Regions from separate parts of the Homo sapiens genome. Here all the other regions are linked to region 1. Evidence: promoter capture Hi-C in 16 types of primary human blood cells and fetal thymus (Javierre and others, 2016). All regions are on one chromosome and are shown on one strand. The core of a region is centred on a gene start or on the middle of the fragment in contact, and the rest is flanking DNA. Distances in the headings are between cores, read along the strand shown. Region 1 holds the start of BAZ2B (bromodomain adjacent to zinc finger domain 2B). Region 2 overlaps TANC1 (tetratricopeptide repeat, ankyrin repeat and coiled-coil containing 1). Region 3 overlaps TANC1 (tetratricopeptide repeat, ankyrin repeat and coiled-coil containing 1). Region 4 overlaps TANC1 (tetratricopeptide repeat, ankyrin repeat and coiled-coil containing 1). Region 5 overlaps WDSUB1 (WD repeat, sterile alpha motif and U-box domain containing 1). Region 6 has its middle 24 kb from the start of LY75-CD302. Region 7 overlaps LY75-CD302 (LY75-CD302 readthrough).

Region 1 (2,992 bases), core at 215-2,714:
TATTTAGCATCAGTCTCCTGAGACATCATCTTCACTAATTTTTAGCATACATTTTACTCTGTAATGAGCAGCCTTCTTTTCAGATATCCCTATTAGACAGGCAGTATTTCTGCCCTTCCCCCAGTGCTCCTGCATTGCAATCATTGTACTTGCACTTATTATGTTACAAATGACCGAGGTAAGGCTGACATTCTCAGTGCATGCAAAAAGACCGAGTCTGCCAAGCTTTTTTTTTTTCCTAATGAAGCAGCTTTGTGAAATCTCCCCATGTGTTAATACTAATGAAGATCCTCCAGCACAATTAAAATCACAGCCAGTGGCTGAAGAGGAAACATAAAACAATAGCATCTTTTAAGATACATTTATCCACATATGTATAAAATATACATAGATGATCAAATTATTCTCCGATAGCTTAATTTTTACTTACTCTTCATCCTGAAAATTAAATTATGCAATTTTTAATTATATGAACTTTGAGACTTTCTTGTGTTCTGGAGGGAAAAAACGGTACCTCAACGAACTTCTAAAAAAAAAAATACGTATCTTCTTGGCTAATAAAGTGTTATCAAGATTAAGGCTTTTAAAAAAATTGTTTTTAGGAATCTATAGGATGGGGTGCGGGAGGGAATGGGGCCTATTGTATCTTTAGTTTAACTTGATTGGTTGCAGGATTTGGGAATTGGGGTTGGGGGAGTGGAAGGGTAAAAACAAAGTTGGAAGAGATTCTGGGGGTAGACCATAGCATATGACTGCATTTGTAGTTTAAAGGAGCAAAGGGCTACCAGTCTTACTCATAACTTGATTTTTAAAAAGTGTTCAGTGCCTACAATTTGCTATGCTTTTTTTCTAATCTCTCAGAAACTTGAAAAAAAGCTATCGAGATTACCTTTTACAGTGTGTGCATATAACTTTAAAACGACTATTTTAACGTCTTTTATTTAAATTTTATTTTAACTTAGTGCATAAACATTACAGCCAGTTTAACTTGTCCGTGGAAAGGCAGTAGAATTTTACCCCGGGACCGTCTTGCATACTGCTTTTTTTGAGTTTTAACATCCGCAAAATCTTGGCATATTAATTTAGTTGGGTTGTAGAATTCTGAGTTTAGGAACAAAAAAAATTTAGGTGGAGATGGTTGACCTATGCTCCCTACTCTGTAGCTTTTGTTTTTTTAAAAACTAAGTTTTAAATCCCGTTTTCTGTCCTGTCTTCTTTAAAAGCAAAACAAAACATTTTAAGTTTCTTAACTTTTTCCTGGGACAAGGAACGGTGCAAACTCAAAGCTACAGTATTCTTGGAAAGAAGAAGCAACCCCCTCCCTTGGCTCCTTTAGGAGCTGATAGGTCATTTATTATTGGAACTGAAATGGTATAAACAATTCTCTCTCTTTTTTTCCCTTGTTAACAGCAACTTTCATTGTTAGAGAGAGGAGAGAGAGAGAAGCCTTGTTGGTTGACGTCACTTGGTTCATGAAGCCTTCGCCTAGAAGTGAAGCTGCTGAACAAACCTTGAGAAGAATCATCTCCTGCTTCAATCTGCTGCTGGATAGGAACTAATCAGAGAGAGAGAGGCGGAAGACGGAGAAGGAGGGAGTCGAAGGCTTTCCCGATCACAAATCTCACCTCCACTACAACTCTCTTTATACTTTTCTTGCAGAAATAATAATAGAAATAAGGAGGTGGTGGGGTTTCCAAAAATCTTAACCTTCAACCATCTGGGGAAAAGGCAAAAATCCCATCTACCGCAACTCTCAGTTCGAGAGTAAAGGTGAGTTTAAAATCCTCGGGCGTGAGGGGTGCGGGTGAGGATGTAAATTCCCAGTGTTACAAAGCCGGTGGAAACAGCAGCGGAGAAACTGCGCTCGGGCAAGCGGGGGACTCCGGAGTTGCTGCGTGGAGGCGCTCGCCCCGCCGCCCTCTCGCCCTCCGCCGCTGTTTATCCTCGCCGGTCGGTGCGGCTCTTTGTTGTGGTGGCCGGAAGGCTGGGGTGGTTCTCGGGGTCCCGAGTGGAGTTTGGGGGAGGAGGACACGGAGATGTGCCGTCCTGGGTGGGAGGTGGGGGGTGCGGCCTCAGGAGAACGTAAACTTTATTCCTAGAAGCCGGTGCGGGACTTCGCTGGAGTAGGGCCGTGGGTTGTGCTCCCGGCCGGGCAGGCGCTGCCGCCGCGAGTCCGCCGCCTTTGTGCCGGCCGCCCTGGCTTCGCGTCTCCTTCCTCTTCCCCTTCGGCTTCCAGCGCTCAGGTCGCCGCCAACAGTTTTGCTTCTTAAAAAACAACCTCTGTCAGCGTTGCGATGGCCGTTCCTACCCCGGAATATCCGCTGCTCCCCCACTCCCTGCCGGGGTAGTTTCTGGATCACCCCCCACCCCCGTCCGCCTCCTGCTGCCCTTTTTTGCCTCCGCCCCCTCTTCCCTGTCGGACTGACGAGCTGCGTCTGCCACCCCCACTCCCCGGCTTGGGCCTCTAGCTCTCCCGTGTGTAGCTGGAGGCTCTGAGTTTACTGAAGATGAGCGGGGGTGGGGGTGGGGCAGGTGGGATTGGGAAAAGATCTGGATACCTGGGAAGGTCTATGTCAGCACGCAGAAGGTTTGAGGAGCATTGCTTCTCATACAGTAAGGTCTGTGCCTTGGTCTCATGTTTTAGCAGTTCTTCCCCGGGAACGACCGCCAGCTCCCAACTCCTCTGCTTCCCTCTTTTAATCTTCTTGTCGCTACCCCTCCCCCCAGCCCCCGTTCTCTTTCGCGGCTCCCTCCCCTTTAAGTAGTTTCACGAACCCCAGAATTGGGATTTGAGAAGGGGAAGGAAGTGTTTGAAGAGTCAGAGCTGGCTCTGTTGTTTGGGAGATTTTCTCTTCTTTTCTTTCTCCCTCTGTATTTATCTTTTGTCTGTTGCTTCCTTATAAAGAGGGAAGCAGCTGCAGTCCTTGGCCGAGTTGTTGAAATTTATCCCTTTGTGTATATTACAATATCCTCCATTTTTTTTCCTGCCCTC
Region 2 (2,992 bases), core at 169-2,668, 490 kb after region 1:
CTGAGGTCAGGAGTTCGAGACCAGCCTGACCAACATGGTGAAACCCCATCTCTACTAAAAATACAAAAAATTAGCTGGGCGTGGTAGGCACCTGTATTCCCAGCTACTCAGGAGGCTGAGGCAGGAGAATTGCTTGAACCCGGGAGTCGGAGGTTGCAGTGAGCCGAGATCACGACACTGCACTCCAGCCTGGGCAACAGAGTAAGACTCTGTCAAAAAAGGAAGGAAGGAAGGAAGGGAGGGAGGGAGGAAGGAAGGAATGGGGACCTCAGTCCTACAGTCACATGGAACTGAATTCTGCCCTCCTGAATGAGCCTGGAAGTGGTTCATCCCCTGAGCCTTAACAGAACACCACCCTGCTACCGTCTTGATTTTGGCCTAAGGAAACCTAGAGAAGAGAGCCAGATGTGCCTGGACTTCTGTCCTAAAGAATTGTGAGATAATAGATTTAAGATAAGCTTGTAGTAATTTCTCAGGGCAGCAATAAAACACTGACATAATGTCTATGAAACACTGTCTCATGTGCTACAGGTAAACACCAAATGCAAGCTGCTGTCAGAGCAGACTCCTGAAAAGGACAAAGCTGGAGCCTCACCAGGCGTATAAAGCAGGTTGTGTGGCTGTGCTGTGACAGCCTACTAATAAATCTGTATGGGCAGAACTCCACCTAAGCCTTATTTTCATTCATGCCTGGTTGTGAGCTCACAAGGAGGAAATCTCTAGCTCTTACTTCCTCTGACTTTTGGTAGTAATTACAATGTGCCATAAAGAATCTAATACCAGCTGGGCATGGTGGCTCACGCCTGAAATCCCAGCACTTTGTGAGGCTGAGGTGGGAGGATCACTTGAGCCCAGGAGTTCAGGACCAGCCTGGGAAACATGGTGAAACTCCATCTCTACAAAAAAATACAAAAATTAGCTGGGCATGGTGGTGCGTGCCTGTACTTGGTGAGGAGGGCGGGGGGTGGGGAGAGCTGAGGCGGGAGGATCACACAAGTCGAGGCTGCAGTGAGTCATGCTCATGCTACTGTACTCCAGTCTGGGTGATAAAATGAGGCCCTGTCTCTGGAAAAAAAAAAAATGCAGCTGATTTCCTTAGCTTTGTAGGAATGGTTAAGAAAATAGCTACAAACAATTGAACAACCACAAACTTTGATTTAAAGATATCCCTGGAGGAAAGATCGATCTTCCTAGAATGGCTAATTTCAGAGTTTGTCTAAGGAACTCAGGAAGTAGGCCTTAAGCCACAGGGCTCTTCTGTTGTTTGCACAAGGAGGAAGTGAGCCCTCCACTGCCTGAAGTAACTGACTCCAAAAGGAAGGCAGGATCCTTGAGAATTTTCTTTCCCTGTGGGTTCAGACCAGCCCCTGGACCAACAGCAACAGCATCACCTGCGAACTTATTAGACATGCAAATTCTCAGCCCCTCCCCAGACCACAGAGTGATTCCGATGCCCCACTCAGGCTTGTTTTTTGTTTTTGAGACAAAATCTCGTTCCGTCGCCCAGGATGGAGTGCAGTGGTGCGATCTCAGCTCACTGCAACCTCTGCCTCCCAGGTTCAAGTGATTCTTATGCCTCAGCCTCCTACAGACAGGCACCACCACACCCGGCTAATTTTTGTATTTTTAGTAGAGACAGGGTTTCACTATGTTGGCCAGGCTGGTCTCGAACACCAGACCTCAAATGATCCGCCCGCCTCAGCTTCCCAAAGTGCTGGGATTATAGGTGTGAGCCACCTCACCTGGCCTCCCACTCAAGTTTGAAACCCACTGGCACGGCCTGTCTGGAGTAGCTATGCAAGACCTTGCCCACAGCCCAAGAAAGCTCAAAATTCAAGTATGAAGACAAAACAGTATGATGTTAAATGACTTGGGAAAAACAGCAGCGGGAGGGAGGAAGGCAGCGATTGAGCTGTACCTGAGGCTGGGGGCACGAGGGGAGACTGGCGTCACTGAATGGGACCACAGAGGTGGGAGGCAGGGGGTTTTACTCTTTCCATTTCCTAAACGAAGTAAAAGCAGTTGGAGGAAGAGAACTTTGTCTCTGTTTAGCTTCTTTACAGTGTTTAGCACAGAGCTATGTACTCAGGTGGGGCACAAATATATATTTCAATAAGAAAAAGTTTATTTCTGCTTTTTAAGTAAATTATACTCATTTGCTATAAATTAGTAACTTCTAAGAAATCCTGTAATTTGGGAATGTCTTCTCCAATATTTACTCAGTACAGTGGCTACCACAGAATTCCATTTCATTTCTGTCAGGGCAGGAGATTCAGAAGTAAGGGGAGGAATGTGAGAAGGGAGATATGGGGAGGTGTTGGAGGGGTTGAGGTGGGGTGAGGGGAGCGTGGGTCCCAGCCCAGTCCCTTGAAAGCTTCCACTGATTAGAAGGTGCTCCACGACCCCTCCCTAACCAGCCAGGAGAGGGTGAAGGCAGAGCAGTCCTATGTCTCACTCAATAGCACTCTCTCTTTCCATCCTCCACAGTGACCAGGTCAAGACTATCCCAGCCTTCTCCAACAAATCTAATACACGCACATACACACTCCACCCTTCGCCCTATACAGAAAAAAATCACCATCGGAAGGGAGCACCTGAAGGAAATTCTTCAGCCCCATCCTCACACCTACCTGCTCTGGCATGCATCTGCATACATCCACACACAGCGAATCCTCTACCTGCACTCATGGGCCAAGATCAGGGTGCAGAGATCAAGGGCAAGAACAGGGAACAGAGATGCAGAACGCAATTGTCTCTAGAGAAATACCTGTAAGCACTGTTGCTCTTAATAGGATTTATGAGTTTAATCAGATTAGGTCCAAAGATTAGCTATGGATCATAGTTTCAACCTGACTAGGTTGCACTGAGACCATTAAAAGGGCCAGCTTGGACAATGAGCTACCACTGCACACCTTTTAGGATGGCTAAAACTTAAAAAACAAAATATAAAAACTGCTGGTGAAGATGCAAAGTAACTGAAACCCTCATACTG
Region 3 (2,992 bases), core at 188-2,687, 470 kb after region 1:
CCCAAAAAACCTAATTTTCATTTGAAATGTCAAGTTTTATTATGGGCAACTAATCCTGTCAGAGTTGGTTTTTTGTTTTTTTTTGTTTTGTTTTGTTGTTTTTTTTTTTTTTTTGAGACAGAGTCTCGCTCTGTGGCCCAGGCTGGAGTGCAGTGGTGCAATCTTGGCTCACAGCAACCACCAACTCCTGGGTTCAAGCAATTCTCCTGCCTCAGCCTCCCGAGTAGCTGGGATTACAGGTGCCCACCACCATGCCCAGTTAGTTTTGTATTTTTAGTAGAGACAAGGTTTCACCATGTTGGCCAGGCTGGTCTCAAACTCCTGACCTCAGGCAATCCGCCCGCCTTGGCCTCCCAAATTGCTAGGATTACAGGTGTCAGCCATCGTGCCTGGCCTTTTTTTTTTTTTCTATTGAAGTGCCAGGCTAATTTCATTCCTGTTGAAGAAAAAATGTGCCAAATACCTACTTCAGAATAACCATGGGTTGTCAGTCATTCTTTCAAATAAAAACAATATTCCATTTTAAAAGTAGCGAGTTCAGCTTGCAATTCAATCATACAAGTGCTCTGCCTCAAGAAAACCATCAGACTTCCGAGCATGCAGAAGGGCTTTACTCAGACTTCCCACTTCATCACACAGAATATTAAAAAGATGGGTCTCCAAGGGTCAAGATTTAATAACATTACTTTTAGTGCTTCATCAAGGACATTCTTCAGTGAATTATTTGTGAAGCCAGCACTTGGCAGTGAAGAACACCAGGACTACCAGTGTAGCCAGTGCCTTGACATATACTAAGGTATCAGAAGTTTTACCAACAATTGCTTTTGCAGCATCAGTGCAAATGTCAACAAAGGGAAATGTAAATACCTTCTCCGTATTATTACAAAAGGGTTTTGTACTATTATAAAGAGTTTTGACATCACAAACCCCTGAAAGTGTCTTGGGGACTAGAAGTCCACAGCCTACACTGTCAGAACCTCTGAATTAAGTCTACAACTGTGTTAAATAAAAACCACAGCTGCACACATCTCTCATCCTAGTAACTGATCTCCCATCTTTATCTGTTTAATTTGGGGGTAAAAGAGGGCTCTCTATTCTCACCAATTCCATTTCCTTATCACATACCTATAACTTCAAGTCACAGACCTTCACAAGTCTCCTGAAACAGCCCTGTTAAGCACATTAATTTTTCTTTTTCCTTTTTTGTAGTACACCTTCTCTTTTGATTTTCCTGTAGATCTACGGCCTTGCAAGCACTCTGTCCTGCAAGGTATAAAGTGGCAATTGTTGTAAGAGACACACAGAGGGAAAAATCCATGATTACCAGAATACTGTGGTCTTGTGTGGTCTTTTCCTGTCCCTCTTGCTGGTGCTCCTTGCACCTTAGTCCCAGCTCATAAATGAAATACCAGTTTCTCAGCCCTCTTTTGTCAACGACCTGTTTCCCTACTGTAACTTGCCTAGTCTCACAGCATTACTTCCAAGCAAATGGCTGACCAGTTTATATCCTGAGCTCTTTCTTGATACCCAGTTTGATTTTCCAACTGGTGGCTGGACACTTGCGAAGATGTTCCACCAGCACTTTGAAGTCTCCATGCCTGAAACTGAACTCAAACCAAAACACAGTCCCTGCTCCTCCAGTGTCCCTTAATGTGGTCTCAAAGGCGTGAAGTTGTTGTCTCTGTCTTTTTCAGTTCCCAGGTCCTTGCAATTCCTCAAGAATCTTCCATTCACCACCTCTTCTTCACTGAACCTGAACTAATTTGAGACTTTATCCTCTCACTTAATTACTAAAACAATTTTTTAATCATTCTTAACCGTAGTCTCTTTCCAGTCCCACTCCATCCTACTCTGTTGCCACGTACTATAGTCTGAATGTCTGTGTCTCAGAATGGGATTAGTGACCTTATAAATGAGGGAGCTTGTTTGTCCCTTCCACTACATGAGGTTACAGCAAAAAGATGGCTGTCTATGAACCAGCAAGTAGGCCTTTGCCAGACCCCAAATCTGCAGACTACCTTGATCTTGGACTTTCCATCCTGCACAAATCTAAGAAATAAATTACTGTTGTTTATCAACCACTCAGTTTATGGTATTTTTGTTATAGCAGCCTGAACTAAGACAACAGGTAAATCTTAAGGCATAGCTACAATTAAGTCTTTCCATGCTCAGAATCTCCATCTGCTGGCCAAGCATAGTGGTTCGCACTTGTAATCCTGGCACTTTGGGAGGCCAAGGCGGGTGGGTCACCTGAGGTCAGGAGTTTGAGACCAGCTTGGCTAACATGGCAAAACTCTGTCTCTACTAAAAATACAAAAATTAGCCGGGTGTGGCGGTGGGTGCCTGTAATCCCAGCTACTCGGGAGGCTGAGGCAAAAGAATCGCTTGAACCCAGGAGGCAGAGGTTGCAGTGAGCCGAGACTGTGCCACTGCACTCCAGTCTGGGCAACAAGAATGAAGCTCCATCTCAAAAAAAAAAAAAAAAAAAAATAGAGAATCTCCATCTGCTGAACTCCTAGTTCATCACACAGCTTGGATTAGTCATTACTTCCTCCTTTATTACAGTCACGCCATATACAGGTCTCTAATCCCCTGCCAGACTCTAAGGCTCCATAAAGACAGGACCCATGCTTGATAACCCATCTCAAATAGCATTTAGCATAGTGTTTTTTCACAGCATAGAAACTGAATACTTATTCAAGGAAATGCAGAATGAATGGATACTCTACTTCCAAGAGTCTCTCTTCTGTGCACACATACCAGGTATGCCCCTTTTCTATACTTCCATCAAATAAAACCTCATTCAACCATTGGTTGAATGTTGCACTGCCATTCTAAGAAGCTGAAAATTAAAGCAGGATCAAGGTTACCTCTTGGGAAAGAAAGGGTTTTAAGAAATAAAACATGACTATGCATTTTTTTCAATCATATTCTTTTTTTCACTTTTTTTTTTTTGAGACAGGGTCTCACTCTGTCTCCCAGGCTGCAGTGT
Region 4 (2,992 bases), core at 227-2,726, 450 kb after region 1:
AAAAAAAAAAAAAAAAAATTAAAGATCTATTCAAACATTCATACGAGTTAGATTACAAAAACAACTACCGCAAAATAATTTTGCTAATTCTCAAGAAATCTTAGAAGCAAGTACATAGTACACGTTTTTGCCTTTTAAAAACCCCTCCTGTTATTACATTGAGGAAAATCTAAAATTAACCTAATTTGGTTTATGGGTTAAGCCCAACATGAAGTACTGTTGATCTTAGTCAGATTATTATCTTTCAGGACAAGAAAATATACAGTGACTTGAGGGCAAATGAGAGCCTAGAGGGAGACATAGTGCCTGGGTAAAGCCTTCTTAGCACTGGGGACATCTTCAGTGGGACCAAGGTGCAGGGGACAGAAGTCGAGTTGGGCCATCTGTCTTCTGAAAACCCTCTGGCTGCCCAACAGGCTCTGACCCAGCATCCAGCTGCCGACCAGTGCCATCCGTCCTACCTGCACCCTTCCATTTCCCCCTACTAAGATCTCAGTCCTTCTCTTCCTCACTATCCATATCATCCTCTCTCATTCCTTCATTCAACAGCCACCTGGGTGGCTCCAGGCCTGACTGTGTTGGCATATCCCCTCTCGCTGCATCCTCCAAAGGGCAATCCAACACGTGCCCTGCCTACTCATCCTCCCAGCGAGCAAGAAACACCTGAAACCTTGACTTCACGACAGCATGCACCTATGCCTCTGTATCCTCCTGGTGCATATCCACAGTGTATACACATTTAAGTGAATATTCTATGCACTTTGCCAGCTACCACACAAATCTTTCCCATTAGAAAGACTCAGCTAATTACTTGTTGGGGATTTTAAATGGATCGAATGTACGGTAATCCAAGGACAGCGTCTAGCTTCTCTCTAGGCCCTTCATAAGTAGGGTGTATAAAATCTCCCGGAGGGCTAACAGGACTACACTGTCTTCCCCAAACCTTCTTACCTCCCTACAGTAACACAGCTTGGAACATTTTCTAGGCTCCTGCCTGAGCACTGAGACCCTTCTCCTCACATGCCTCATGGTGAATGCACCCACCAAGGCACAGGTAGAAGGGGCAGGCAGCCATATTCATAACCCGTAATTCATTTCAGAGCCAGAACAGTCATGAACATCTGACATAATGCTGCAGCCCTAGAGAATAAAAAGATGCTTTAGAGCCTCAAAAGTGTTGCCTATTTCCCTTCTTCCCCTGACTCCTTAGAACAGTTTATAAATTTATAACAACTGAAAGGATTAAAAATATGTGACCATAAAAGACATTCCAAATAAAGGATTGCAAAAATGCCCTAGATTGTATCTAAACAGGTACAGGAGATGTTAAGATTCCACAGGCCTGTTTTCAGATTCCCAGCCACTAGAGCTTCGGCACCAAAATCTGCAACAGAGCAGCCTCAGCACTTCCACAGCTCTTGGCTGATTCTCAATTTCAAATACGATTAAGCCGAGCTGAAAGCTGCAGCAGGGCCATAAGCCACCACCTGCCAGCTATCTCAGCTTTCTGAGGCATTTTCGAAGCCACCAATAGAGGTGCCAGTGAATAGGGCAGGAAGATTTCAGTGGCTTAGCTATGTGCCCAGGTGCTCCCCACCCTCTGAGCAGGTAACTTGGGCCACTCTGCCCTCTCAGGCATGCCTACAGTAGATTCTCAGTTGTTACCTATGCAAAAGTCAGACTCACATTCAGTATTTACCCATAAACGCTTTCAAAATCCTAGACACTACTCAGGGCCCCAAAAACCCAAAGGTAAAGCAATAATTTCATGCTACAATAAACCCACTGCTAGAATCTCTACAGCGAAATTAATTATACACTTGTTGTGCACACACACACACACACACCATATCTAACATCTGGATAAGAAGCACATTTCAAGATGTGGAGGAAAGTCCGTTTTTTGGTGAGGGTGGGCTTGGTGGGGCAAGGCAGAGGGAGACATCTCTAAGCTGAACAAAGAAGAACATTTGCTAAAGTTGTGGTCTAACCTATGGAAAGTCCATGCCAATAAGTCCAGGGCAATGACCAGTTTTAGGAAAACTGGATAGCAATCATGCTTGTTTCCTGGAAAATTAAACACAGTGTTCTATAATCCACTCAGAAAGTATTTTGAAAGGTAAAAAATAGAACCCATTACCCAACTTCTTTCTGATTTAAAACATACCTTTAAAGGCTTCTAGGTCTGTTTTTAATAAAGGAAAGAGGTGTCCATGTCATGCATTTTGATGTGATATATAGTTGTCCAAACCAATCCCACTCTAATAAATATCTTTACAAAGAAAATCTGTATAGTGAAATAATCTTTAAACCTAGCCAACTTATTTTTATAATCTTTGTCAAAAAATAAAAATAAAAAAACCTGTCACTGTACTACATGGTTAACAGACAATTTCATTCTCTGTAGCAAGCTCAATAAAGGACCTTAGGAAGAACTTCTGCACCCAATCCCCTAGGGGCCAGCCCCATGAGGAGGCTGTGAACAGAGGTCTGGCATCACCCTTCCTTTACCTGCCAATCCTCATATGCCAAAACACCTTTCCCACCAAAAGGCAATTTGTTTACCTGGATCATAACATGCAAATACTTCTAAGAGATTTCTGTATACGGTCCTTCACATATTATTCTGATTCTTCTAACACTGAGTGTTCTCTGCTGCCCTGTTTGTAGCAGCCTGCCTTCTAATCACTAAATAGTGCTGCATAGAGTCTATACAACCTGAATCTTACTCTTCAATGGTACTTGAAAAATCTTGCCATTTCCTCTTAACTGAGATTCAACTTCAGGGGCAGGAAGGGAGGCAATGAAGAATCTACCAGACTCCTAGCTTGTTAACAGATATCATGAAATAGGCCTTTGCTCACGTCCTTTCAAAATATGCATTTAGTTTAAAAAACATGTAGCACACAAGAAATGAGCAAACCCATTAGGCCAGGTAGACTTTGCTCAAATCTAGAGGTGAAACCCTCCCATTCCACAGGAGGTCTAGCTC
Region 5 (2,992 bases), core at 225-2,724, 340 kb after region 1:
GAAAAATAATCCTGTTTGCACCTGAGAGTAAATGATCATTTCTCTCCAGTTTTTAAATGATAAAGTGTAGGTTAGGTTATTATAATTTAAATATTTTTCCTGAAGAAAAGTATGTTTCTAAATATTATATTTAGATACTGAACATAAGCACATTTTAACCTGTGTAATTTTCCATTGTCTTAGCTGAATTTTCACTACTTAGAGAACTTCAGAATTAACTTCAAAGGATCTATTTAGTTAAGAAACAAATAGCGTTGCTAATTAGGTCTAATACAGAAATATTTTGCTCTCAGCCATTTATTGAATAAAATGTTTTGTCTTAAAAAGACAGTGATTATCAGGAATTGCCTGTATCCCTCAAGATCTCTCTTAGAAAGGATATATTTTGGGTAAATCTATGCTACAGAAAGAAACAAAAATGCTATTGAAATATGGAAGTCCCATGGAGTTAAAAAAGCTTTCAGTGAAATGGAATTTAATTTGTTGTTCGTTAGTAAAGTGTTTGTACTTTCAAAGAGGCAGAGTCCATAGAAAAAATTTACATGCCCAGGTGTACACGTTTGTTAAATTTTATATACTGAAAATTTGTTAAGCCAGAGTACAATCTTAAGATGGATATTAGATTTCTGTTTTGGTGACAGGGTCTTGCTCCGTCATCCAGGCTAGAGTGCAGTGGTGTGATCATAGCTCACTGCAGCCTCAAACTCCTGGGCTCAAGGAGATCCCCTGCCTCGGCCTCCTAAGTAGCTACAACTACAGATGTGTGCCACCACACCCGGCTAATTTAAAAAAATTTTTTGTAGAGACAGGGTCTTACCATCTTTCCTAGCCTGGTCTCAAACTCCTGGTGTCAGCCTCTCAAAGTGCTGGGATTACAGACTTCAGCCACCATGCCCAGCCTCAATTTCTTAATTGTGCTTTACTGCATATGAGTGCCAAAACTTACTTGATGAAACTACTTGTGATATTAGGTGCAACTTGTATAAAATTGCATTGATGATGTCAATATTTACATTATCCAAAATTGTTTAGGAACTTTAGTAGATATATAATGATACACTAAAATTAAGTAAGTGTAATGTAGTAGCTCTTCTGGGACACCATATAACTGATTACTTTCCCTAAATAATATAATATTTTCAACCAAATGGAGTGAATTGATGTTATTTTTGATTTCTATAATTCCAGCCTTTGGCTTGATTAAATCAGATGGAAAAAAATTCCCATTATTATTCCATGTGAACTATAGATCAGGCTTTTAAGAAATTGATATGACTTTAGGCCAGTGCAGTGGCTCACGCCTGTAATCCCAGCACTTTGGGAGGCTGAGGCAGGCGGATTGCAAGGTCAGGAGTTCAAGACCAGCCTGGCCAATATGGGGAAACCCCGTCTCTACTAAAAACACAGAAATTAGCCGGGTGTGGTGGCACATGCCTGTAATCTCAGCTACTTGGGAGGCTGAGGCAGGAGAATTGCTTGAACCTGGGAGGTGGAGGTTGCGGTGAGCTGCCAAGATCGCACCACTGCACTCCAGCCTGGGCATCAGAGCGAGACTCCATCTCAAAAAAAAAAAAAGGAAGAAATTGCTATGACCTTAAAAAAAGGTTAGGAATGATTAAACATTTAACACTCTCAAAGTAACTGACTTTTCTTCCTGATTTTTCCTATCAGTGCTAGCCTCATAGACTCTCAAATTGAGTTAGAGGAGGATGCTCTATTGAGTGGCTCAATATTGGTCCTTGCAGCCTTGAGTTCTATTCTTTGAGGAAGGAAAATGAAAGGTATTTTTTTGTAGCAACTTGAGGACTAATAATCCCACATAGTACCTTGTTTAAAAGAAATTCTTTAATCAGCATTTTGTTAAATGATATAAGTTAACTAATAACTTGTGAACATGGTTTAAATGAGTAGAATTAATAGATCTTAGTATAAGAAATGGGAATTTTGGGGGGGTTTCAGTGTTTTACAAATTCTCTGTATTTATTTTTAATAAATTTTAGATGGAGAACAAGGTCTTCAGTTTTTTCGACTGGCATCATGTGGTCAGGATTGCCAAGTCAAAATTTGGATTGTTTCTTTTACCCATATCTTAGGTATGTATGCCAAATAGTGCTTCTCTAAAATTATTTGTGGTCTGGATAAAATTTCTATTTAATCTTTTTACTTAAGGTACCTTGAGTATCTAAAAGTAAGTATTAAAATATGGTTTAAGAAACTTTTAGTCAAAATAATACACATGATTTAAAAATCAGATGCTCATTGATGATCATGACCTCACCCATTCTACTGCCATGCACATTTCTGCTCACCAGAGGTGACCACTTTGCACTTGATTTCAACTCCTTTGTGGTTTTCACAGTTTCTGTAAACACTGTTTATACCACTACATTTTTTTATTTATTCACTGTAGGTACTGCTTTTTGTTAGTGTGTGGGTCTTTTCCCATCCATTGTACTATTCCATCAGGTGACCCTTTCAGTCAGGAAGCTTATTTTGTACAGTTTTGGAATAAACTATTCCGTTATGTTATTTCTTTAATTCATCTCTCTTTTTACAACTTCCATTAATTGAATGTTGGGCCTCCTGAATTGATTCTCTTTTTTTATCCCCCACATTTCTCTCTCTTTTCTTGTACTTTAGGGGAAAATTTCTCTGCTTTTTGTCTTAACCTTTTTTTGAATGTTTTATCGCATTAATCATATTTTCAGATTCTAAAAGCTCACCATCTTCTTTGTTTTCTTTTCATAGTGTCCTTTATAAATGTAAGATCTCAAAACTCTCAGGATGTCATTTAGGAGTTTTTGCTTTAAGTTCCCTTCTGTTTTCTGATCTTTGTTTGCAGTTGAGTCCCCTTTTTGCTTAGTACTCTGTTTGCATTTAAGAATTAGACAATGTTTAGAAGCTCTGTGCACAGAAGTGGTTCGTTATTGCTGGCTTCCCTCTAGGATGAGGAGGTGGGTAGTTGGCCCTTCTGGGTGAAGGACTGGGGACT
Region 6 (2,992 bases), core at 127-2,626, 310 kb before region 1:
TTTTGAGACGGAGTCTCGCTCTGTCTCCCAGGCTGGAGTGTAGTGGCACAATCCCTGCTCACTGCAAGCTCTGCCTCCCAGGTTCACGCCATTCTCCTGCCTCAGCCTGCCAAGTAGCTGGGACTACAGGCGCGTGCCACCATGCCTGGCTAATTTTTTGTATTTTTAGTAGAGACGGGGTTTCACCGTGTTAGCCAGGATGGCCTCGATCTCCTGACCTCGTGATCCACCCGCCTTGGCCTCCCAAAGTGCTGGGATTACCGGCGTGAGCCACCGCGCCTGGCCACCAATGTGTAGTCTTTTATCCCTCATCTCTCTCCCACCCTTCCCCCTGAGTCCCCAAAGTCCATCATATCATTCTTATGCCTTTGGGTCCTCATAGCTTAGCTCCCACTTATGAGTGAGAACATACGACGTTTGGTTTTCCATTCCTGAGTGACTTCACTTAGAATAATTGTCTCCAATTCCATCCAGGTCACTGCGAATGCCATTATTTCATTCCTTTTTATGGCTGATTAGTATTCATATATATATATATACACACACACACACACACACAAATATATAATACATATACATGCACATATATATACATATACATATAGATATATACATATACATATACAATTTCTTTATCCACTCATTGATTGATGGGCATTTGGGCTGGTCCCACATTTTTGCAATTGCGAATTGTGCTGCTATGAACATGCGTGTACAAGTTATCTTTTTGGTATAATGTCATCTTTTCCTCTGGGTAGACAGCCAGTAGTGGGATTGCTGGATCGAATGGTAGTTCTACCTTTAGTTCTTAAAGGAATCTCCACACTGTTTTCCATAGTGGTTGTACTAGTTTACATTCCCACCAGCAGTGTAAAAGTGTTCCCTTTTCACCACATCCACACCAACATCTATTTTTTTATATTTTTTTGGTTATGGCCATTCTTGCAGGAGTAAAGTGGTATCACATTATGGTTTCAATTTGCATTTCCCCTGATCATCAGTGATGTCGAGCATTTTTTCATATGTTTGTTGGCCATTTGTGTATCTTCTTTTGAGAATTGTGTATTCATGTCCTTAGTCCACTTTTTGGTGGGATTGTTTTTTCCTTGCTAATTTGTTTGAGTTCCATGTCGATTCTGGATGTTAGTCCTTTGTCAGATGTATATATTGTGAAGATTTTCTCCCACTCTGTAGGTTGTCTGTGTACTCTGCTGATTGTTTCTTTTGCTGTGCAGAAGCTCTTTAGTTTAATTAAGTCTTGTCTATTTATCTTTGTTTTTGTTGCATTTGCTTTTGGGTTCTTGGTCATGAAGTCTTTGCCTAAGCCAATGTCTAGAAGGGTTTTTCCAATGTTATCTTCTAGAATGTTTATGGTTTCAAGTCTTAGATGTAAGTCCTTGATTCATCTTGAGTTGATTTTTGTATAAGGTGAGAGATGAGGATCCAGTTTCATTCTTCTACATGTGGCTTGCCAATTATCCCTGAACCATTTGTTGAGTGGAGTGTCCTTTCCCCACTTTATGTTTTTGTTTGCTTTGTTGAAGATCAGTTGGCTGTAAGTATTTGGCTTTATTTCTGAGATCTCTATTCTGTTCCATTGGTCTATGTGACTATTTTTATACCAGTACCATGCTGTTTTGGTGACTATGGCCTTATAGTTTGAAGTCAGATAATGTGATGCTTCCAGATTTGTTCTTTTTGCTTAGTCTTGCTTTGGCTATGTGGGTTCTTTTTTGGTTCCATATGAATTTTAGGATTTTTTTTCTAGTTCTGTGAAGAATTATGGTAGTATTTTGATGGGAAATGCATTGAATTTGTAGATTGCTTTTGGCAGTATGGTCATTTTCACAATATTGATTCCACCTATCCATGAACATGGTATGTGTTCCCATTCGTTTGTGTCATGTATGCTTTCTTTCAGCAGTGTTTTATAGCTTTCCTTGTAGAGGTCTTTCACCTCCTTGGTTAAGTATATTCCTAAACATTTTATTTCTCCTTGTAAATTAATAAACTGACATTGTGATGTCCTCCTCAGTCTCATGTATGATTTTGTTTGGGCAGTGGCAGCTCTGGAACATTGCTGTAGGAGGTGCATAGGTGTGGGCAGTCTCACCAGAAAGGGGGTCTAGACCTGAGGAACTTGTCATGGTGCAGTGATTCCACAACAGGGACACCAGGCTTTCTTAGATGGCAGAACAGTCATATATTGGCATTACGACATCTACCTCAGCTTTTGCAGGTGTTTAGTTGAGTAAGCCAAAGCATGGCATCCCCTGGACCAGAAAAGAGTATGTTTCTGTGGCTTGAAACCAGGAACCAGGCCTGAGACATAATGGTCATCTTTAAGTTCCAGTCCATCTCCACACAGCCTTCCTTTTCTTTGAAGACAACTAGGCCACTTCTACCAGCTCTCATCTCTCTTATTACATGGTAGTATTTGAGAGATCACAAATCTGTTTTAAGCACAGTTTTACAGATGACAAAAGCAAGACTTAGAAATATTCTTTGATTTCACCAGTAATACATGGCTAATTTGTGGCAATACATGAGAACTAATCTCATGATTCCCAGTTCTGATCTGGGTGTCTTGCAGTGTGACTGACCCCAGAACACTGCAAGAAAGGAGGAGGTTAAGAGGAATGTGGGTCATCGTAGACCAGGGATAATGAAAGAGTCTATGCTATCAGACCATAAAATCAGAGAAAGGGAAAGAGGCTTCTCACCTGACTCAGATACCTGGGAAGGTGAGATATAGTTGCATTTATGCACTGGAACCCAAATAGGTCTGTGGAATAGGAAAGAAACCCCAAGGAGAGTTCTGAAAGTGGGGAGTTAAAGGAAGGGAGTACAGAAGGGAGAATCAGGAACCCCAGAGGAGATATACAAAATGCCTGACAAACAATTAAATTCAAAGTTCCCCATTTGATTTTACTGATGGATCTTAGGAATGGCAAAATATCCCCCTATGGCCCTAGATAGTAGCAAGAAGTGG
Region 7 (2,992 bases), core at 357-2,856, 280 kb before region 1:
AATGCATTACTTTATTTTCAGAAATCCAAATTAAATTTGATGCTGAGCTCCCATTCCACCAGGTTGCCAGAACTTCAATAATTGTCCTTACTGGGGTCTTTGCCAGCTCATGCAAAGTGCCAGGGGAACATTCAGGGAGGATTCTTCTTTAGTCATTGGATCCCGCTGGTTACCTCTGGGTTTTCCATTGTCCAAACCCACAGGATCTTGTATCTGGTGGCTCAAGACTCATCAGCCATCACTTTGGTAGTTCCTGGAGTTTGGGGTTCAGCCTTCTTAGGTGATCCACACTGTCAATCCCCCCAGGCTTTCCCCAGGCCCTGTCGCCTTCCTGAGGGTGCCACAAGCCAGTGTATGGCTGGATAGTTGCAGACGACTGTGATGAAACTGAGGACAATGAAACTGCCACAGTGGAGCTGGCCACAGGTTCTACCCTCAGAACCCAGACCTCTGTTTCTTCTTGTTTCTGTACCCCACTGTTCTGCTGCTCCCTCAGAAATTTCCCCATTTCCTCTGAGATACCTCAATGAATTTAGGTCTCCAAAAAATATCTAGGGGGAAGTGGTCTTTAAGAAAATTGTCCTTAAGTTTTCCTTTTTAGTGGCCCCACTAACTTGCCCTAAGGCAGAGGAGCACAGAGGCCTCACTATGTACTTGGATCTGAAGAAAGGAACATATATATAGTGCACATGCTGTGTTAAGCATCGACTTTTCATGTAATAATTTACCCTGCCGTAGTAGCTAACATGTAAGCAAGGCAGAATTATGGTCCCAACTAGACTTTTCATTGAGATGAAAACTAAAGAGCTTCTTTTGTCTTATTAAATGAGAAGGGAAAAATCTTTCATGAAATAGCAACAACAAATATACATGCTACTCTACACGCTTTACATGGATTAGCTCCTTTCATGCTCACAACCATCATATGAAAACTGGAGCACAGAGGTTAAATGATTTGCCCTGATCCTATGGCTAACAAGTAGCAGGAGCAAAATATGGACCCAGGCGGACTGGCTCCAGAGCCCGTGTTCTGACCCTACACACTGCACTGCCTCTCTGCTCACCACTGTCCCACCTTTTGTAGTCCCCTGCAGCTTAAAAAGAGTGGGAACAGACTGAGGATGGGAACAGTCCAGTAGTGCTCAGACTCTCCTCAGCAGGCAGGGAGCAAGGCGCTTCAACCACATAATCTACAATCTGTCTGTCCATTTGACTCAGCTAATGACCCCTTCACCATCGTCCATGGAAATACGGGCAAGTGCATCAAGCCAGTGTATGGCTGGATAGTAGCAGACGACTGTGATGAAACTGAGGACAAGTTATGGAAGTGGGTGTCCCAGCATCGGCTCTTTCATTTGCACTCCCAAAAGTGCCTTGGCCTCGATATTACCAAATCGGTAAATGAGCTGAGAATGTTCAGCTGTGACTCCAGTGCCATGCTGTGGTGGAAATGTGAGCACCACTCTCTGTACGGAGCTGCCCGGTACCGGCTGGCTCTGAAGGATGGACATGGCACAGCAATCTCAAATGCATCTGATGTCTGGAAGAAAGGAGGCTCAGAGGAAAGCCTTTGTGACCAGCCTTATCATGGTGAGTATTAGAGAGGGACTTTGACCGATTTGCTGTTGTGCTTGTCACATGTGGCATTAAACATGCACAATTTAGTAAAAATAGAGTCGTACATTAGTAAGGGCAGTGAGTAAGCTCTTCACTTCCAGGCACTGTGCAGTTACTTTGAGCGACATTCTTACAAGTCCATGGTATTTGCCTCTACTTTGCAGGTAAGGCTAAGAGAGATAAAGTGCCTTGTCTGAGGTCACACAGCCATGTTGTGATAAACCTGGGATTTCATCAGATAGATATGTACTTCTTATGATGGTCTTCTAAACCCTAGAGGAAAGGAAACCCTAGAGGAAAGGAATCATTAGATTTGTACAGGCTAAAAGTCAAATGATCTAATAATGTTGATCTTATTCTAAGTTTTAAAAGAAGAAGAAAGGTCAGGCGTAGTGGTGCATGGTTGCGGTCCCAGCTTCTCGAGAGACTGAGGCAGCAGGATCACTTGAGCACACAGGAGTTCAAGGCTGTAGTGTGTAATGATCACGCCTGTGAATAGCCACTGCACTTCAGCCTGGGCAACATAGTGAGACACCCATCCTTAAAAAAGAAAAGAAGGAGAAGGAGGAAAAATATATTTTTTCTTGCCTACGGATTTTGAATAAAATGGGAAAATTTTGAGTGGATTTTCTTATTTATTTTCATTTTTGCATGGCAACCAAATTTTGATGTTTATATTTATGATTCAGCATTTTAAGAGTGGAGTTTTTCAGTTGCTTCCGAAAATAAGTATATTAATATTGCCTTGCGGGGAGCGGACCATGGACTTAGCCCTGAGTCTAGGGACTGGATTGCAACTAATTTCTAAGTTAAAGAATGAGTAGATTTATTTTTTTAACCATTAAATGTAATTAGCTATCTCCCAAGCAAATATTTTTCATTATGTTGCTCTAAATTACACCAAATGTCGATATGCATATAATTATGTCCTCTAAGTCCTATTATTTCCCCTTGCCTTTCTTTACAAATTTCCCTAGCTTTACAGTGGCTTTCTTCTTCTCTTAAAGATCATTTAAGCTAAATTTGGCCTCAAAGTCACTATAGCAGCTTGCTCCCATACTTTCCATTATCCATCTGCACAAGTTTTTCTTTCTAGCTTTCTATTTCCTAGTGAGGATGCAAGAATTATTCTGAGAATGTCAAGTTCTGTTGTGGAGAAATATTAGAGAATTAGAGATAGGGTTTCCTTTTCATCATTCCCTGGCCTTTGAATAGTTGACAGTCTGTTTCTGCGAGCCAGTTTCCTCCTAAAAGTAAAGCAGTTGCTTTTTGGATATGACTTAATGGCAAATTTAAATTCTGTGCCACAAAAGCCCTTCTCCAACTTGCCAACTAAGAGGAAACACAGAGCCAAACAAAATGCCTTTTAATTGGA

The links. The method cuts DNA at HindIII sites, captures the fragments that hold promoters and counts their contacts. A CHiCAGO score of 5 or more calls a contact.
Region 2: a fragment that was not itself captured here is called in contact with the fragment with the promoter of BAZ2B in region 1 in 1 of 17 cell types (erythroblasts); the score reaches 6.1 in erythroblasts.
Region 3: a contact is called between a fragment that was not itself captured here and the fragment with the promoter of BAZ2B in region 1, in 1 of 17 cell types (erythroblasts). The highest score is 6.8, in erythroblasts.
Region 4: a fragment that was not itself captured here is called in contact with the fragment with the promoter of BAZ2B in region 1 in 1 of 17 cell types (megakaryocytes); the score reaches 5.1 in megakaryocytes.
Region 5: a contact is called between a fragment that was not itself captured here and the fragment with the promoter of BAZ2B in region 1, in 1 of 17 cell types (megakaryocytes). The highest score is 7.2, in megakaryocytes.
Region 6: a fragment that was not itself captured here is called in contact with the fragment with the promoter of BAZ2B in region 1 in 1 of 17 cell types (neutrophils); the score reaches 6.5 in neutrophils.
Region 7: a fragment that was not itself captured here is called in contact with the fragment with the promoter of BAZ2B in region 1 in 2 of 17 cell types (neutrophils and monocytes); the score reaches 10.3 in neutrophils.

The regions. Positions count from the first base shown.
Region 1 is chr2:159,615,020-159,618,011 of GRCh38, reverse strand. It overlaps BAZ2B (bromodomain adjacent to zinc finger domain 2B), which reads left to right and starts at 1,464. Exons shown (of 37, transcript NM_013450.4): 1 at 1,464-1,770. BAZ2B-AS1 (BAZ2B antisense RNA 1) reads right to left here and starts at 2,718. Exons shown (of 2, transcript NR_110588.1): 1 at 2,559-2,718; 2 at 1-2,262. RefSeq lists enhancers at 1,375-1,444, 1,695-1,774, 1,402-1,928, 2,985-2,992. The HindIII fragment of the contact is 3,593 bases long and covers 228-2,992 here.
Region 2 is chr2:159,122,832-159,125,823 of GRCh38, reverse strand. The region is part of intron 4 of TANC1 (tetratricopeptide repeat, ankyrin repeat and coiled-coil containing 1); the gene reads right to left. Among named protein-coding and RNA genes, the nearest start is that of MIR6888, 63 kb to the left of the region's middle. RefSeq lists enhancers at 1,212-1,723, 1,724-2,237. The HindIII fragment of the contact is 1,916 bases long and covers 461-2,376 here.
Region 3 is chr2:159,140,185-159,143,176 of GRCh38, reverse strand. All of the region lies in intron 5 of TANC1 (tetratricopeptide repeat, ankyrin repeat and coiled-coil containing 1), which reads right to left. Among named protein-coding and RNA genes, the nearest start is that of MIR6888, 45 kb to the left of the region's middle. The HindIII fragment of the contact is 4,627 bases long and covers 1-2,992 here.
Region 4 is chr2:159,165,326-159,168,317 of GRCh38, reverse strand. All of the region lies in intron 8 of TANC1 (tetratricopeptide repeat, ankyrin repeat and coiled-coil containing 1), which reads right to left. Among named protein-coding and RNA genes, the nearest start is that of MIR6888, 20 kb to the left of the region's middle. The HindIII fragment of the contact is 3,806 bases long and covers 1-2,992 here.
Region 5 is chr2:159,274,647-159,277,638 of GRCh38, reverse strand. It overlaps WDSUB1 (WD repeat, sterile alpha motif and U-box domain containing 1), which reads left to right. Exons shown (of 11, transcript NM_001128212.3): 4 at 2,001-2,093. Among named protein-coding and RNA genes, the nearest start is that of WDSUB1, 11 kb to the left of the region's middle. The HindIII fragment of the contact is 2,030 bases long and covers 460-2,489 here.
Region 6 is chr2:159,927,420-159,930,411 of GRCh38, reverse strand. It overlaps a transcript of PLA2R1 not described here. Among named protein-coding and RNA genes, the nearest start is that of LY75-CD302, 24 kb to the right of the region's middle. The HindIII fragment of the contact is 4,816 bases long and covers 1-2,992 here.
Region 7 is chr2:159,897,286-159,900,277 of GRCh38, reverse strand. LY75-CD302 (LY75-CD302 readthrough) reads left to right here. Exons shown (of 38, transcript NM_001198760.1): 2 at 1,219-1,590. It overlaps LY75 (lymphocyte antigen 75), which reads left to right. Exons shown (of 35, transcript NM_002349.4): 2 at 1,219-1,590. Among named protein-coding and RNA genes, the nearest start is that of LY75, 6.0 kb to the left of the region's middle. The HindIII fragment of the contact is 3,516 bases long and covers 1-2,992 here.